Regions from separate parts of the Homo sapiens genome. Here regions 1 and 2 are each linked to region 3. The links are contacts of gene promoters, found by promoter capture Hi-C in blood cells and fetal thymus (Javierre and others, 2016). All regions are on one chromosome and are shown on one strand. The core of a region is centred on a gene start or on the middle of the fragment in contact, and the rest is flanking DNA. Distances in the headings are between cores, read along the strand shown. Region 1 has its middle 2.3 kb from the start of TBRG4. Region 2 holds the start of MPLKIP (M-phase specific PLK1 interacting protein). Region 3 holds the start of C7orf25 (chromosome 7 open reading frame 25).

Region 1 (4,143 bases), core at 8-2,507, 2.2 Mb after region 3:
CCCCGACCAGTACGCCATCCTCATACGGAGTGCGGGAGACGACCCTTTGTTGTCGGTGCTGTCACCCTATCCCTCCCTGCTTGCGTAGGCGTAGGAGAGTTCCTAGGGCGGTGGAAGACTGGGCTGGTGGAGTGGGATAGGCGACGTTGAGGCCTGTGGGGGCTGGGAGGACGAGTGAGTGGAGACTGGGGAACTCCAGAGCGCCCACTTGCAGCTGGATTTTTATGTGCAATTTTCCTGATTTTTAAATAGTGGTGTTTAATTACAAAGTAAAGTGCAGGATAGCCCAAACGAAATGTATCTGAGGTCTATATATGGACTTGATTAATTTTTACTTCCTGCACAGCCTTTTATTTTCTGTGGAGTTAATAATTACTTGGCTACGCACGGTGGCTCACGCCTGTAATCCCAGGCCTCGGTGGGCGGATCACTTGAGTTCAGGAGTTCGAGACCAGCTTGGCCAACATGGCGAAACCCCGTCTCTACTAAAAATACAAAAAAATTAGCCGGGCGTGGTAGGGCGCACCTGTAGTCCCAGCTACTAGGGAGGCTGAGGCATGAGAATCGCTTGAATCCGGGAGGTGGAGGTTGCAGTGAGCAGCGATCTTGCCACTGCACTCAGCCTGGTTGACAGAGCAAGACTCTGTCGCAAAAAACAAAACAAAAAACATAAAAATAAATAATTACGTTTGTTTGTGTTTGTAAACTAAAAATAAAATTGTAAGCCCCCCAAGCACTGAACGGACCTCCTCTTAGCCAAGGAGACCCCAGAGAAACCTTAAAAACTGAGTTCCCAGCCATTCTGGAAAGGGAGGTTGAACACCCCTTGTTAAAGTAGAGATCATAAGACTAACAGACTTTGTGGTAGTAAGATACCAAATTATAAACAAGACCTAAGGCCGTGCAAGGCAAGGGTTAAGTCAAGCTTGCAGACCATCAATCTTGCTGAAGAGGTCTTTTTTGACCCAGTGTATTGTGGCTGATTCTGGCATACTATCTTAAACATTCTTTTCTGCTGACTCCAAATTTTACACAGAGCCTCACTCTTTTAACCAGTTGCAAATTAAAAAATCTCTTGGTCAAGCTGGCTGAGGTGGGAGGATCACTTGAGGCCAAGAGTTCAAGACTAGCCTGGGCAACATAGGGAGACCCTATCTACCCCTACCAAGAGATCTATCTATCTATCTATCAATCAATCATATATCGTGTATATATCTATGTATTTGAGTCCACATATAACTTGTAAACCCCCCACATCAAGACATCCTGTCTTTTGGAGCCAAACCAGTGTATACCTTCCACACATTGATTTATGTCTTTGCCTGTAACCCCTGGCTCCCTGAAATGTATAAAACCAAACTATAATCTGACTGCCTCGGGAACACTTAAGGCTTTTTGGGTTTGTATTTTCCTGGGGCTGTGGTCACTCATTGGCCCTGAATAAACCTCTTTAAGTAATTTACAGAGTTTGATTTTTCTGTTAACAGTTAATTAAGATTCCATGTATTTATCACAAATTCTACTCCAAATCCTTCACAAGTTGTCTGTCAAAAGACAATATTACAACAGATTTATAGATCTGTTAAAAGAAAAGCTTTAGACAAACTAATGGAGTTTTGTTGAGGAAAGAACCTTGAAAACATGCTAAGGGAAAGAAGTTAGACACATGAGGCCACATATTGTATAGTTCCATTTATATTTGCAATGTCCAGAGTAGGTGAATTGATAGAGTCACCTATGTGATGTTGAGGTGGGGAGAATAGGGAGTGACTTCTGATGGGTTTGAGGTTTCTTTTTGAGATGGTAAAAGTGTCCTGGAATTGGATAATAGGGATGGTTGCACAACACTGAGTATACTAAAAGCCACCTGTGACTTAAGAAATATATATGTGGTCTCTGCATAGAGCTTCTAAAACCCTTGTAACTTTTTTCTTTAGGTTTTCATTAAGGCATTTTATAAAGATAATATCATTTGTATTTATAAAATGTTTGCTACATATACATAATATATATAGTGTATATATAAATTTAAATATGCTCAAGTTACAAAGCAGAATTATGAAAAGAAACCCGTGAACCCATTACTCCACTTAAGAAATAGAATATTACCAATATTGTTGCAATTTTCTGAGAGTTTCCTCTTCTTTCTTATCCCTCCACCCCAGCTAATTGCTATCCTGATGTTTTTCATTTGTGTATGTGTATTTTAATTTAATTTAAAGTTCCAGGATACATGTGCAGGACGTGCAGGTTTGTTATATAGGTAAACGTGTGCCGTGGTGGTTTGCTGCACCTATCAACTCATCACCTAGGTATTAAGCCCTGCATGCATTGGCTACTTATCCTGGTGCTCTCCCTTCCCCCTGTCCCATGGACAGACCCCAGTGTGTGTTGTACCCCTCCCTGTGTCCATGTGTTCTCATTGTTCAGCTCCCACCTATAAGTGAGAACATGCAGTGTTTGGTTTTCTGTTCCTGTGTTAGTTTGCCAAGGATAATGGCTTTCAGCGCCATCTGTGTCCCTGCAAAGGACATGATCTCATTCCTTTTTATGGTTGCATAGTAGTCCATGGTGTATATGTACCACATTTTCTTTATCCAGGCTATCATTGATGGGCATTTGTAAAACACTTGTAACTTCTTGAATGATAGTGACATCTTTTGTTATTCATCATAAGCCCCTTTTAACCATACCTGAGTTTATGCCACTAATGAAGTGGCTTTTGGAAGATGGGAGCTGGTTATCAGAGAAACCAACCATGTGATTAGAGGGCTGAAACTTTTAGCCCCACCTCTCAACCTCCAGAGAGAGGAGAGAGGCTGGAGATTGATTTGATTACAGTTTATCTAAAAGAAGAAACGGAGGCAAAATTAATAAAAGTGGAGAGTTTACATTTGAACCAAAATGAAGACAGCTGCCCAGAAGACTCACATGCAAGTAACCTGGGATATGAGCTTCATTAAGCCTTTGTTACAAGCAGGTTTTTAAAGGTAAAAAAGGGGACTAGGCATGGGGCAGATAAAAAGTTGTTTGTCAGGAATTCTCATTGGTTTACAGAAATAACATTGATTAGTGATGGCTATACATTGTTGAATGATAGGGTATGAGTTATGTTGTGCAGCATGCAGTATTGTTAGGTTAATTTATAGCTACTTGGGGGGCAGTCAGTCTAGAGTCCACATAGCAAGCAGCTTCAAAAGATGATTATTCAGCAAGAGGGAGGAAGTGAGATGTGACTGCTGTCTCTTTCTCATGCCTTTTTTTGGGCCTGATAATTTAGAGGAAGCTCATATTCCTCATATAAAAACATTTCTTTTGACTGTCATTACTAATGGCCAATGATTTTATCAATTATACCTAGGTAATGAAACTTCATAAAAACTTATTAAACAATGGGGTTCAGAGAGCTTCCAAGTTGGTGAATGCATCCACATGCTGGGAAGGTGTCACCTCCCAAACCCCATGGGAACAGAAGCTCTGATGCTTGAGATTCTTCCAGAAGTGTTGTGATTAGAGGAACAGTTTCCTTTGGAACCTGGCCCTAAGACTTTTTTTTTTTTTTTTTTTGAGATGGAGATTCGCTCTGTCGCCCAGGCTGGAGTGCAGTGGCGCTATCTCGGCTCACTGCAAGCTCCGCTTCCTGGGTTCATGCCGTTCTCCTGCCTCAGCCTCCCGAGTAGCTGGGACTATAGGCACACGCCACCATGCCCGGCTAATTTTTTGTATTTTTAGTAGAGACAGGGTTTCACCGTGGTAGCCAGGATGGTCTTGATCTCCTCATCTCGTGATCCGCCCGCCTCGGCCTCCCAAAGTGCTGGGATTACAGGTGTGAGCCACCGTGCCTGGCCCCTAAGACCCTTTTAATCTAGATGTTCATCTGTATCCTTTAAAATATGCTTTGTAATAAACTAGTAAACATAGATGTTATGATCTGATTGTGTCCCTCCGAAATGTGTATGTTCAAGTCTAATCTGCAAAGTGTTGATATTAAGAGGTGGGGCCTTTGGGAGGTAATTAGGTCAAGAGGATGGAGCCCTCGTGAATGGAATTAGTGCCCTTATAAAAGAGGCCCGAGGGAGCATGTTTGTCCCTTTCTCCTTCTGCCATGTGAGGACACAGTAAGAAGTTACCTTCTATGAGGGA
Region 2 (4,124 bases), core at 149-2,648, 2.8 Mb before region 3:
CCCTGATCCAAATGGTGTAGATGTCCTTGGAGAACCCTTTAGAAAAAAAATCAGTTAAAAAAACACTTAGTAAAGATAATTGGTACTTCTTCCTTTAGCTAAAGGTTAGCGGGAATCACATTGCTGCTTAAAAGTTGTGACTTGAACCTAAATAATGTTCAATTACAAAGTCCATGCTTCCTTTAATCAAGTGTTCCTATTTTTTAAAAAAAGTACTTAAAGCAATTCGTTATTCTCATTTATTTATAATTCCATGACCACTGTCATCTCAAATACTTTTGTGTCTAATGTAGTAACTTTGCAGTAATTAAATACAAGCAGTGATGAAATCAAGTAATTATATTCAATTTTCCCTCGAAATTTTCACTTTTTTCAGGAGAAAACAATACTATAGTTTTAAAGTTTCTAGAACCTTTCTAGCTCATGAACATTTTCTTTACTCCTTAGCTCCAGGCTCAAAAGGGGTAGGGGGTTGGTGTAGAATACAGCAAGTTGGAAAACCACGTAGTTGCAAGTTGTAAACCACAGAAATCCCAGACATGCTAGAGATACTCTCTCTGTCTTTTGTATTTACTCTCACTAAAGGAATGGAAAACTTCCACTACCACCGATTTTCTTTTCAGGGAAGTTGGAGCAGAAGCCAGTGTAGCTCGAAAGAAAGATAAAAAAAAAAAAAAAAAAAAGAAAAAGAACTATTTCTTGAAACAAACTGGCAAGGCCTTTGGCAAACAGGAGGAAATGGAGAATTAGGAAAATCTGTGTACGGGTGGCAGTGTATTGGTTAAAAGCACGAGGGCTCGAAAACAGAACGTACGGCTCTGCCACTCTTTCGGATAATCTTCCGGAAGTCACTCAACTTCTCTAAGCCTCAGTTCGCTCATCTGCAAAATTGGGCTAACAATAGTACCTCAGAGAGGATTAGACAAAATAATCCACGTAAAGGGAATATTAGTACCGTGCCTGCCATAAAGTAAGAGCTCGGCAAACGCTGGCTATTATTATTACCTGGGGGTGGGTCTGCTGCTGCCCTGGGGAGTAGCCGAATTGCTGCTGGGACCCCGCGGGGGACCTGGAGTAGGAGCCAGGGTAGCCGCCAGGGGACGGAGACCCGAACCGGCCCCCCGGGAAGCTGCCGCCGTGTCGCGGAGAGTGACTGCTCCCGTACGGCCTAGACCGGGGCCCGTACGGCGGCGTGTGGTGCGGACTCCCGTACCCGTCTCGAGGGGAGGGCGGCCGTGGTCCGCCCCCGCCCGGGGTTCCCCGGAAGCTGCTTCCGCTACCCCAACCTCCTCCACCCGGACCAGGGTAAGGAGGAGTTGGGGGCCGAAAATTCTGTCGCTGCATATCAGGAGCCAAAGCCGAAAACCTCGCAGCCGCGTTCTCCCACCGGAACTGTATCAACCGGCCCTCCGCAGAGAACTGCTAGTCCTTTACCAAAACAGTCCTCCGACCGCAGCCACCCTACGGCACATCAGTTCCGGCGTCACAAAGGTTCCGCCAGGGGCGGCGGGATTACCTAAATCACTGACTTGGCGAGAGACTCAGTGGATTTAAGTGAAAAGAGGAAGAAAAGGAGACAGGAAAGGACGGACACCCAAGCCCAGCAACAACCTTTCCAGTCTGAGTGCCCTTGGTCTGACCGACAGACTAGAAGCTGGCCCAGCAGGCGACTAGTGCTCAGCCCCGCCCGGCGGGGGCGGGGTCTGCGGCGTCCGTGGGCGCCCCCCAGTGGCGGCGGGTGGCGCCGCACGGAGTTCGCCGCTTGCACCGGGACCGATGCCATCTGAGACGCACGCGATGCTGGCGACGCTGGCGAGGGTGGCAGCTCTGCGCAGAACCTGCCTCTTCTCCGGCCGGGGCGGCGGGAGGGGGCTGTGGACTGGCCGCCCGCAGTCAGGTACCCTCCGAGATTCGGTCTGGGTGGCTAAAGGGATCCCTGCCCCAGCTTGCCTCCTCGGGCGCCCTGAGGAGAGCAATTAGGGTCTGAAGTCTCTGCTGACCCCTTAGCGGTGGCTTTGCTCGCCTCCCTGCAACCCCGTTCCGTGGGCCTGCGGCCGGCCTGCCCCGCTCTGGCCGCCCAGGGTCGCCTCTGTCCCGTGCGTTGTTGTGACCGAGGGCTCCGTGCGCCGTGGGGTCCCGCTCCTGCGCGTCCCGCGGCTCGCGTTTGGGGCCTCTTTACTCCTGTCCTTTCGTCCGCCAAGTTTAAGTAACTTCGAAAATGCACACCAAGCCACATTTCAGAAAGGACTTTAGCCCGCTGCTTTGAATAACTTGACACTTCATGTACAATAAAAGATGCCCTTGTACAGTTACCTGTTGCAGAATTTTATTTAGAGGATGAAATTTAGCTTTACTACAGTGTTATAGAACTTTCTTTACTCCCTCTGAATTTGGGAATGGTAATCCACTATGAATCTTTTTTTTCCTTTTTTCTTTTTTTCTCTTTTTTTTGAGACGGAGTCTCGCTGTCTCGCCCAGGCTGGACTGCAGTGGCGCGATCTCGGCTCACTGCAACCTCCTCCTCCCGTGTTCAGGAGATTTTCCTGCTTCAGCCTTCCGAGTAGCTGGGATTATAGGCATGCGCCACCACGCCCAACTAATTTTTGTATTTTTAGTAGAGACGGGGTTTCGCCATATTGGCCAGGCTGGTCTCGAATTCCTGACCTCAAGTTATCCTCCCGCCTCGGCCTCCCAAAGTGTTGAGATTACAGACGTAATCTCTATGATTATGCGCGCGGCCCACTATGAATCTTGAAATTAGTTGCAGGATGCAGGATTTTTTTTTTTTTTTTTGAGACAGTCTCGCTCTGTCGCCCAGGCTGGAGTGCAGTGGCGCGATCTTGGTTCACCACAACCTCTGCCTCGCGGGTTCAAGCGATTCTCTTGCCTCAGCTTTCTAGAGTAGCCGAGATTACAGGCATGTGCCACATGCCCGGCTAATTTTTTTGTATTTTTAGTAAAGACGGGTTTCACCATGTTGGCCAGGCTGGTCTCAAATTCCTGGGCTCAAGTGATCCGCCTGCCTCTGCCTCCCGAAGTGCTGGGATTTCATGCGTGAGCCACCGCGCCTGGCGTAGGATACAGAATCTTAAAAGAGCTTTAGGACTCATTAAATCATAGCCTAACGGGTAGCCTGGACCTGTGATTTCCATTCACCCTCTTGTAGCTGCTACTCCTCGCTGTCTCTTTGACATGTTCTGTGACATCCCAAGCTGACGAGTGTGGTATCTTCTCAGCTTCTATCCTCCTTGATGAATGGAGACACACACAGACAGTTTTTTTGTTTGTTTATTCTGTGGAAATTCAATTCACTACATTTCGTTTCTTCTGTAGATACAAGTGATAGACTTAATCAAGGTAGCACGTTGCCATTAAGGCTTAGTGATACAATTAAGGTCGGAGGACTCCAGCCTATCCACTTTATTAAATACAGTAGTTCTGTCCTGGCCAAAAATTCACCTTTCTGGACATTGTCTTTAGTGTTTAACTTAATGCTTGGGAATTGCTCATTTGAATATTTATTGAATAAAATGACCTAGGTGGGACGATTGCTTGAGCCCAGGAGTTGAAGACCAGCCTGGGCAACATCGTGAAGCCCCATTTCTACCAAAAATACAAAAAAAATTAGCCGGGCTTGGTGGCGTGCGCCTGTAGTCCCAGTTGCTTGGGAGGCTGAGGTGGGATGGCTTGAGTCCTAGGAGGTTGAAGCTGCAGTGATCCGCTATTGTGCCACTGCACTCCAGCCTGGGTAACAGAGCGAGACCCTATCATGCCCCCCCACCCCACTGGAAAAAAAAAAGGTTCACATACATCACATAGGTAATTTTCACCTTTTAGATCATCAGCCAGTCTACTCAGGGGAGGGGGCAGAAAAGTGAGAGTGGTGGGGACCAAAATTAACTTTATTATTATTATTATGGACATGGGGTGGTCTCACTCTGTCACCGAGGCTGGAGTGCGGTGGTGAGATCACAGATCACTGCATCCTCGACCTCCTGGGCTCAAGTGATCTTCCCACGTCAGTCTCCCAAGTAGCTGGGAGTACAGGCTCATGCTACCATGCCTGGCTAATTTTTTTATTTCTTTATTTTTTGTAGAGACAGGGTCTTGCTGTGTTTCCCAGA
Region 3 (4,199 bases), core at 529-3,028:
TTCAGGGTGATCTAACAGAGCGTTGACTGCTACTATGTCTCCTCTCACAGATATGCCCATTTCTTTCAGCTTCTCTGCCATGGGGCTGGAGACACTGTTGTAAAATGCAAAGATGATGTGAGGGTTGCTATACTGCACTGGCTGCTGGTGACTGGCCTGGAGGAAGTCTTCAGCCTGCTCAATGATGCTTTTGTCACCATATTGGCCCCTGCCCAGCCAGATGTTATGAAGAGCTTCAGCCTTCCGGCCAATGGCTTTCACCCAAGTATGACCACCATTTGCAACTACATCTACCACAAGGGTTTGCTTTTCTCCTAAGGTATCTGTATAACCAAAGACATGAAGAACACTAACAACTTCTTCCAGGTTTTCTGCTGATTCCACAATGGCTCTCAGGTGTGTTAGGTTAGTGCTCTGTAAATGAGACTCTTTAATAGCTACTTTCCCAGCTTCTACTTTCTGCAAGAATTTTAATTCTGCCTTCAATTTGCTGCACAGCTTTGCACCACCTTCTATGCCACCTTTTCTTGATCTAGAAAGTGATTCTGCTCTCTTGATCAGTTCCTTGGCTATGGCGATTCGTTCACAGAGCATGGAATGTGCAGACATGCTGTCAGCATTATTCCTTTCCTAGGGAAAGAAACAAGGCAAACTTCAGTAGTCTCCTAAAATTATGACAATCAATTCTTCACTGGTGATTAAAAACTTCAATCTAGCAACACAGCTTATGGAGGGTGAGTCTATGAACCCGGGCTTGTGTATGTCTCATTCTGGAGTGACTGCTTCCTCTGATAGCTAAGGAAAGGATGGCAGCTACACTTTTGAACTCTTCTTTAGGTACGTCTGACACACTTTAGACCTTCATTTCTTCAGCTTGAAAGCCATGGGGACACAGCATGGTCCTAGGTTAGGATACAATGCAAGAGTTGGGCAATCTGCTATATAAATAATTCCCTTATGTCTATCAGCGGCCTGTTTAACTGCTGAGAAATTTTAATAAAGGCGACAAAAATGCCGAAAACAAAAATACACACAGACTGGCTAGTTAGCAAACTGTCCAAAGCAAGTGTCTGTCCTAAACTGAGCACTTCAGCCTCCCTAACCTTTTCCTCCTTCCCGAGTTGGTCTCCTTCAACCGGCTGCCTCATGATTTCCCCCGAGGCTTGGGGTACTTACGCCAAAAAAAATCAACACTGCCTCATTTCTGCATTTGACGTCAACCCAGACTATTTTAAAAGACCGAAGAAGACCACCAACTTGCGTCCCACTCCCACTCCGACTCTGAAGGAAAATCCGAAGATGAAACTAAACTCCAAGGCTGCAACCCGCGGCGGCCGTGCAAGCGGCCCCAGCGCAGGTCGCCGGGTGGGCGGGCCAGAGGCCGGCGGGGCCTTCTCGGTGGGCTGCGGGGCCCTCGGCCCTGCCCGGCCACCTGCACAGCCGGGCCCTGCCAGGAGGGGCCGGGGCCGAAAAGCCCCCACCGCCAGCGCCGCGGCTCAGGGACCAGGCGCTGATAGCGCGCGGCCGACCCCCTTCCCGCCGGGCCGGCCCTGCCCAGCCCCCTCTGGCCTCAGAAGAGGCGCCCCGCTCCCAGCCTCCCCGCCTCGCTCCCCGGCTCCTCACCGGCAGCGCCAGAACCGCGAGCGCGAGCACGCAGGCGCGTGCACGCAGAGGCCGGGACCCGCCGGGAAATCTCAACCGGGCAGCCCCCACCCCGCTCGAACGCCGAGGCGGCTCCACCCGCGCGAGCCCCGCCGCCTCGGGCACCTCCTGCATCACGTGGTTCCGGGCCGGGTGACGCCAAACCTGCGATTCCCAAGCGGCAGCGCGGCCTCCCGAGCCGGGTTGACGCTGGCGTGGCGGCCATGTTTATTGAGGGCACCTGGCTTCTCCCGCTTGCGCCGCCGGGTGAGCCTGAAGGCGCGCACCCACCTGGCTCCAGGAAGAGGGACCGAGCTCGCGTGCTGGGCCTCACTCCCACTGGGGGCGTCGGCCACTCGATCGCAACCGGGTCGTAGGCATTTTGGGGGCTCATTTTAACAGAAGAAACGCTGGAGAAGCTTGTCAGAGGTGACAGCTGAGAAGTACTGCCTCTGGGACTTCTGCCTCCAAGCCAAAGCACTTTCCACTGCATTGTCCTGGGCCCTCCAAAGAAAGTGTGCTGTCCTTCTGAAGAGAAGAAATGATTGCATGGCTTCCGAGGGGCTGCCATATTCATATTACTGTAGTAGAGTGTCCAGAGTCACCCAGAAAGATTAGGGCTGTAAGAAAGTAAAGCTAATTTAAAATATTAAAGAGGACTTCCAGTTATAATTAATCCTGTGTATCCTGCTCCTTCTCCAAACTTAACAGTAAAGCAATGCTCCTTCTCCAAATAACAGTAAAGCAATGACAAAGGGAACAAACAAAGGCAAAAAGAACAAGAGAAGAGATGACTGCAGACCGGTTATACCAACACATTTTTGGAGGACAAGAGCAATAACTTATTCAGTCCTTACAGCGTGACAGACATTGTTCTAAGTGTTTTACACATTGTTCACTCCTTTAAACAACCTAAAAGGTAGAGATATTAAGTATGCTTTACAGATAAGTGAGCCATAGGGAGGTTACCTGAACCCAAGCACCCTCTTTGCAGATGGTGTCAGGAGAACTGAGCAAACTGCTTGTAGAAGGGGATATTTAGCCACTGATTCACAAAGCAGAACCCCAGAAAGCTTCAGGTGCCTTGAAGGTAGAAGGGAGGGCAGTAAATTGTTCAGGCAGAAGACTAGTTTAAGATGCTAAAGACAGGGCATCAGAGGGATTCCAGACACAAAGCCTAACAAAGGATGAGAGGTGCCATGATGTTTTCCTACTGAATAGTGCAATGCTAGCAGCCCCCTTCTCTGCCCCTCCCATAATGCAGGCACCCCTCTACCGCTCCCTACCACTATCTCCCCATAACCCTATTTTTCTCTGAAGAAATGAGTAGACAAAAGACCCTAGAGAAATGGCTCGGCAATACCAACATTCAGCATCCCCTAGTGTGAGCCTCACGAACACAGCATTTCCCAACGTTTTTGTTATTTGAAGGAAATGGAAAACAGAACAAAATGGTCTCAAAAAGTATTCTATAACTAGCATCTTCAAATAAAAGATATTTCAGCTATGAAACAAGAGGATTTCTTTTTTTAAGGAGACAGCAGAGCACAGGAAATGGTTCTTCTGTAGTAAAAATCATATCCCAAATTTCAAAACATCAATGAGTTGGAAAAATTTAGAAAGTAGAAATAGATGAAAAATGGAGCAAAAACAAAAGGATCCAGTATCCAATTAACAGGAGTTTAGAAACAAAAACAAAATGAAGAGAAAATTTTTCAAAAACTTAATAGAAAATTTAGCAAACAGAAACGTTTTTCACAGTGCAAGGGCCCACTGAGTGCTCACCACAATGACTATTAAGAAACCCACACAAAGGAACATGGTTGTGAAGTTTCAGAACACAGCAGATAAGAGAAAAACCAAGAGCTGCAGAGGGGAAAACTTACAAAGGACTTGGCATCACATACGCAATAGTATTAGGCTTCCTATCAGCAACACTGGAATTTAGAAGGGAGTAATGCTTTCAAAATGTGGAGATAATTTATTTCTTAGAGTTTTTAAACCCAGCCAATTCAGAGAGAAAGCAAGGAGAATAAAGATAGTTTCAAACAAGCACCTAGCCTGGATTGGAACAGGAAGACAGAGGGTTCTAAGAGAAACTTCTCTGAGGTGTGGGGAAGAGAACTGATACAGAGTGCCTGATATCTGACTGATGAGGAAAATATTAAGCAGAGGGTGTTAAATTTCTGTTGGGGGAATCTGGCAAGGATTGGTGACAGCTACGCAGAAAACAAAGTAACCAAGTGGGCTGGGCGCCGCCATGGCTTATTTGTAATCCCAACACTTTGTGAGTCCAGGGCGGGAGAATCACTTGAGCACAGGAGTTCAAATCCAGCCTGGACAATGTAGTGAGATCCCTGTCTCCACAAAAAGTAAAAAAACTAGCTGGCCATGGTGGCTGACATCTGTATTCACACCTACTGCAATGGCTGGGGTGGGAGGATCGTTTGACCCCACGTCAAGGCTACAGTGAACTGATTTGTGCCACCTCACTCCAGCCTGGGTGACAGAGTGAGACTGTCTCAAAAAAAAAAAAAAAAGAAAAAAAAGCGGTTATC

The links. The method cuts DNA at HindIII sites, captures the fragments that hold promoters and counts their contacts. A CHiCAGO score of 5 or more calls a contact.
Region 1: a contact is called between a fragment that was not itself captured here and the fragment with the promoter of C7orf25 in region 3, in 3 of 17 cell types (non-activated CD4 T cells, naive CD4 T cells and activated CD4 T cells). The highest score is 7.5, in non-activated CD4 T cells.
Region 2: the fragment with the promoter of MPLKIP here is called in contact with the fragment with the promoter of C7orf25 in region 3 in 4 of 17 cell types (naive B cells, total B cells, naive CD8 T cells and 1 more); the score reaches 10.3 in naive B cells.

What each region holds. Positions count from the first base shown.
Region 1 is chr7:45,111,901-45,116,043 of GRCh38, forward strand. No RefSeq gene overlaps it. Among named protein-coding and RNA genes, the nearest start is that of TBRG4, 2.3 kb to the left of the region's middle. RefSeq lists enhancers at 1-205, 1-324. The HindIII fragment of the contact is 669 bases long and covers 924-1,592 here.
Region 2 is chr7:40,133,224-40,137,347 of GRCh38, forward strand. It overlaps MPLKIP (M-phase specific PLK1 interacting protein), which reads right to left and starts at 1,399. Exons shown (of 2, transcript NM_138701.4): 1 at 1,006-1,399; 2 at 1-36. The coding sequence starts at 1,344. SUGCT (succinyl-CoA:glutarate-CoA transferase) reads left to right here and starts at 1,782. Exons shown (of 14, transcript NM_001193313.2): 1 at 1,782-1,897. The coding sequence starts at 1,798. RefSeq lists silencers at 1,125-1,194, 1,655-1,854 and an enhancer at 1,405-1,474. The HindIII fragment of the contact is 4,548 bases long and covers 1-4,124 here.
Region 3 is chr7:42,910,292-42,914,490 of GRCh38, forward strand. C7orf25 (chromosome 7 open reading frame 25) reads right to left here and starts at 1,779. Exons shown (of 2, transcript NM_001099858.2): 1 at 1,624-1,779; 2 at 1-630. The coding sequence starts at 609. RefSeq lists enhancers at 608-1,305, 1,306-2,002, 3,522-3,581 and a silencer at 1,351-1,610. The HindIII fragment of the contact is 2,903 bases long and covers 1-2,058 here.